Linked DNA regions of Homo sapiens: region 1 is linked to region 2. The links are contacts of gene promoters, found by promoter capture Hi-C in human tissues and cell types (Jung and others, 2019). All regions are on one chromosome and are shown on one strand. The core of a region is centred on a gene start or on the middle of the fragment in contact, and the rest is flanking DNA. Distances in the headings are between cores, read along the strand shown.

Region 1 (2,798 bases), core at 249-2,748, 1.3 Mb after region 2:
ATCTTCTTTAATGTTCAGAATAGCTGCATCTTTCCTTTTACTCCTTGAGGTTATATTTTCAGTCCAATTTCCTTCATAAATGTGATTCCTCATATTATAGCTTTTATTATTGTAAAGTCTCTTAAAATCCCTTTATATAGATATCAACATGTATATCATATATAAATAAAATACATATAACACACACATATATATGAAATTTTAGAATTTGTTTCATTTCCTCTTGCTAAAAGGCTCTGGATATTGAAAATACTCTGGAAAGAGTTGTCTTTATATCTATTATTAGTATATTAGATCAAAAACTACAAAAATCAACCCAGCTGTTAAAAATAATTAATATGGGCCGAGAATGGTGGCTCACACCTGGAATCCCTGCACTTTGGGAGGCCGAGGTGGGTGGATCATGAGGTCAGGAGTTTGAGACCAGTCTGACCAACATGGTGAAACCTGTCTCTACTAAAAATACAAAAAAATTAGCTGGGCATGATGGCACACACCTGTAATCCCAGCTACGCAGGAGGCTGAGGCAGGATAATCACTTGAACCTGGGAGGCGGAGGTTGCAGCGAACTGAGATTGCGCCACCGCACTCCAGTCTGGGCAACAGAACAAGACTCCGTCTCAAAAAAAAAAAAGAAAGAAAAAAAATACACATTTTGAAAAATAAATTTTAACTATGTGACACAATTCTTATTGGATGTATTTTTTAGTGGTACTCATCATGTTCACACTTTGGCTATATATTTAAGGAAAGAAAAATTGTGTGTGTGTATATATATATATACACACACACATATTTTATATTGTATATATATACACATTTTATATTGCGTATATATATACACATTTTATACTGTGTATACATATATACACATTTTATACTGTGTATATATATACACATTTTATACTGTGTATATATATACACATTTTATACTGTGTATATATATACACATTTTATACTGTGTATATATATACACATTTTATACTGTGTATATATATATACACATTTTATACTGTGTATATATATATACACATTTTATACTGTGTATATATATATACACATTTTATACTGTGTATATATATATATACACATTATATATTGTGTATATATATATACACATATACACAATATAAAATGTGTATATATATATACACATTTTATATTGTGTATATATATATACACATTTTATATTGTGTATATATATATATACACATTTTATATTGTGTGTGTATATATATATACCATATATACGTATATATATACGTATATATACACCATTTATGTATATATATGTAGCTAAAAATTAGTTGGTATGGCAGCCAGTATGTTATTTTAGTCTTTGTTGATAGGATATATAAATTATTAAAGGTTTTATGGAATAAAATTAAAAAAGGATAAATAGTAGTAGGAATAAATATTTCTAGATATGATTTGATAACTATCTTACTAGATTAAAATTCTAAATCAGAAAGAAATCACATAAAATTTCATCCATGGGCTTTGACCATTTTCCTGTAAAAATTTTGAGTTCTGCAAACCATTCCAAGTCACATTTAAAAGAATCACTCTCACTAAGCTTTTCTGCCTTGCCTGTTTGAGATACTTTTCTAGTGAATGATACATCTGAAAGATATTAAGAATAATATAAGGAATCATTTACATTTCAATACATGACAAAGCATTGTTTGGTATTCAGTATTCCCTGCTGATGCTGTCTTTGCTTAACTTTTTCTGGACTCTCACTCAAGAAGCGTTCATTCTTTGACAATTGTTGGCAAATGAAGAGGCAAAGTCATAAAAAATGGCCCTTGTTTCTGTCTCCACCCTGCACTGTCCATCTGAAATCAGAACATCCCAACATGAGCCAAGGTGCTGCATTTCTATCATTAAGCTTCATCTTCAGCAGAAATGTGTATTTATTCAGGGAAGCCCTTCAGGGTTTATAGTAGCTGGATACTGTAAAAGGGGGACTCTCTGTTGTTTAAAGGGGGACTCTCTCTTGCTTGCTACATGGGTGGGTGGGCGAGCAAAAGATGTATTTTCAAGGAAATCCATTTTAGGAAAGTGGAGATCTGCAAATTGATTCCCTAAAAATTATCCATATTCTACAGCCACTTGGAAAGTATTAATGTACCTCTGTTTGAAGACGATTAATCTATTTTATGACAGAGAATGGGACTTTTCATAACGATTTTGTAAGCTCCAATACATAGCTTGCTTTTCTAAGCACCTTCCAAACTGTCCCCTACTACAATAACCCATAGTACATTAACAAAAGAGACCATGGGAGACGTTACTGGGTTTCTGAGGCAGTTTTATCCTGTGCCTTGAACCTTCTAGGCCTAAGTGTTTTGTTACTCATATCACCACATGTATAGCTGGTTCCAAGCAGAGGTGACACGAGACCTCAGCAGAGAAATCTAACAATTAGATGGAGCCACAGGAACAAGAAGAAAACCAAGAGATGTTGGGGAGTTGCAGGTTTTTAAAGAAAATGGGAGAAAACATTAATACAATTTTTACCCATTCAAATTCAGTTTTTATATTGAATCTTTATAAATAGTTTTAGGCTTTGGTAGCATGAGACCTCAGCCATCTTAAGCTTAAAATTGGGTTAAGACAATTTTGGCAACACAAAGTCAGTAAAAAACAGAAAACCCAAAACTTTGACTGGTTTTGATACCAAAGAAGGACAGCAAAAACTCTTGCTTTCTCTCCTTGACTTGAGTTTTAATTCAAATAAGGGACAACAGACTTAAAGACAAGGAGATCAATACCAGGGATGGTCTTGTCCACAA
Region 2 (2,825 bases), core at 287-2,786:
GCAGAAAGAAAACAGGAATCCATAAGGGGAGGAAAGTGTTGAAAAGCAAACCTGATACAGTGGGAAAGGTGGGAGACACCATAAGGTGCTGAAGTGATAAAACAGGCCAGTGTTTCTCCACTGTATGTTTTCAATAAATGCTTCCAAGGAAGGAGAGTGGGGCATGAGTAGGGGAGCTACAGAGATAAACCAACTTTTCTTACCAGGAATGCTACAGATAGCACTGGTGACACCGGTCACCAGTACCCAAGACAATTTAATGTGGAACATAAGTACAGGAATACACATCTTTCATTACAGAGCCATGTATTTATTTTAATGGGCAGGAGATGCTAAATAAGATCTTTTGAATGGAGGAATGCATAAATATATGAATGAATGCATACATGAAAGAATAAATAAATGCTGCCTAGCACCAAGGAGCGAAGATAGACTCATATCAAGGGAAACAAGTATGATTAAAAATAAGACCCCAGAGTCACGCTCAGTCTCTTTCCAGCCTTTTCATCATCCGGTACATTCAGACAAGTTTCAGGGAAGGATCCTATTTGTCCCATGATAATGATGGGCAAGGGGTGGGGAGTTATCTCATACTCCGCCTGTGGATGAGGGGTCTTCTCAGGTAAGGCTCTTAAATCCTAGGCCTGAGTAAATTTTTTCAAATTTTATTTTAGACAGGGTCCCTCTCTGTTGCCTAGGCTGGAGTGCAGCGGCACAATCACAGCTCAATGCAGCCTCAACCTCCCAGGCCCAAGTGATCCTCCCACCTCAGCCTCTTCAGTGACTAGGACTACAGGTGCATGACTCCATGCTTGGCTAACTTTAAAAAATGTTTGTTTGTTTGTTTGTTTTTTACAGAGATGGGGTCTCACCATGTTGCCCAGGCTGATCTTGAACTCCTGGGCTCAAGTGATTCCCCTGCCTCGGCCTCCTGAAATTCTGGGATTATAGGCTTGAGCCACCATGCCTGGCTCTGAGTAAAGATTAAGGGAAGCCATGGTGCTATCGCAATAGGGTACCAGGCAGCTTAACAAAGGCAGAAGGGAACCTCAGAGAACCCCGAAGAGCCACCGTAAAGTGAGTGCTGGGGGAGCTGAACTTCAGTCAGTACAGGTGCCGAACAGCCATCAGGTGCGCAGTGTTAGTAATTCCACCCTCTGCCCTGGGAGCAAGGTGTGTGGAGAAACCTGTAGCACTTTATGACCATCAGAACCAGTCTTTTTCAAAAAGACCATGGAGTACTCTTTGACCTGTGTATATAACAAGAACCTTTCTCAAATAGGAAAGAAATGAATTGGAGAAAACCACTGTTTACATGGCAGAGTGTGTCTCCTTCGCACACATCTTGTTTGAAGTTAATCATGACATTGCAACACCAAGTGATTCCAAATAATCTGCTAGGAGTCACCATTTCTAATGATTGCCTAGTCTATTCATAGCTAATCAAGAGGATGTTATAAAGCATGAGTCAGACAGCCTCTGGCTTTCTGGAAGGGCAAGGACTCTATATATACAGAGGGAGCTTCCTAGCTGGGATATTGGAGCAGCAAGAGGCTGGGAAGCCATCACTTACCTTGCACTGAGAAAGAAGACAAAGGCCAGTATGCACAGCTTTCCTCCACTGCTGCTGCTGCTGTTCTGGGGTGTGGTGTCTCACAGCTTCCCAGCGACTCTAGAAACACAAGAGCAAGATGTGGACTTAGTCCAGGTAAATGCTGCATTGCATGTGACAATAATGTAAATTTTTAGTTTGTATTTTTCTGCAGTAATGTAATAGAGTTTTTTAAGGATAGGTTTCTTATAAAGAGATTTTTTTTTTTTTTGCTAGAAACAGCACCCTCCACCCAAAATGTATCTAGCCATGCATACGCTCTCTTTTTCCAGTTGGAGGTGAGAGTGAACTAAAGGAACAACATCCAAACTTGTCTCCACAAATTGTAGACTTGTAACAGTATGCAAATCTTGCTCTACAAAAATTGCTCTACTATGAAGTTCTTACTTCACAATAACTAATAGTAGGGACATTTCTACTCTGAAATTTCATTTCTCACCAAAAATAAGGATAAAAGCAACTGCGAAATCTAAACACAAGGTTTAAAAGCAGTTCTCTGTTTTGGCTAAAACTTAATGCCATCAATTTTTAGAATAATGAGAAAGATTTCCCATGCAGTGTTTCGATAATTTTCTTTTGTCAGAAATACCTGGAAAAATACTACAACCTGAAGAATGATGGGAGGCAAGTTGAAAAGCGGAGAAATAGTGGCCCAGTGGTTGAAAAATTGAAGCAAATGCAGGAATTCTTTGGGCTGAAAGTGACTGGGAAACCAGATGCTGAAACCCTGAAGGTGATGAAGCAGCCCAGATGTGGAGTGCCTGATGTGGCTCAGTTTGTCCTCACTGAGGGGAACCCTCGCTGGGAGCAAACACATCTGACCTACAGGTAGGCAGACTGAGGGCCAGAGTGAGAGAGCTATTTCCCATGACAGTGGTAAGAAGTCATGTCCAATGTGTCTCTATTTTGTTTCATTCTAAGGATTGAAAATTACACGCCAGATTTGCCAAGAGCAGATGTGGACCATGCCATTGAGAAAGCCTTCCAACTCTGGAGTAATGTCACACCTCTGACATTCACCAAGGTCTCTGAGGGTCAAGCAGACATCATGATATCTTTTGTCAGGGGAGGTAAGTTCTTCTTATAGCACCTTAACCTCACCTTGCCCCTAGATCTCGTAGCTTTGCAACTGGAATTGATTGTTTAAGATGAATGTTGATTTTATGGGCTCGAAGAGGGAAACTGCATCACAGTTGATGGAAGTCTGTTGGCC

Evidence for each region. Contacts are between HindIII fragments. The study calls those that stand out against the background at their distance.
Region 1: a fragment that was not itself captured here is called in contact with the fragment with the promoter of MMP1 in region 2 in 1 of the 25 tissues and cell types used here (hippocampus).

The regions. Positions count from the first base shown.
Region 1 is chr11:101,498,051-101,500,848 of GRCh38, reverse strand. All of the region lies in intron 2 of TRPC6 (transient receptor potential cation channel subfamily C member 6), which reads left to right. Among named protein-coding and RNA genes, the nearest start is that of MIR3920, 20 kb to the left of the region's middle. The HindIII fragment of the contact is 3,753 bases long and covers 1-2,798 here.
Region 2 is chr11:102,796,871-102,799,695 of GRCh38, reverse strand. It overlaps MMP1 (matrix metallopeptidase 1), which reads left to right and starts at 1,536. Exons shown (of 10, transcript NM_002421.4): 1 at 1,536-1,708; 2 at 2,196-2,440; 3 at 2,534-2,682. The coding sequence starts at 1,604. It also overlaps the pseudogene WTAPP1. The HindIII fragment of the contact is 22,607 bases long and covers 1-2,825 here.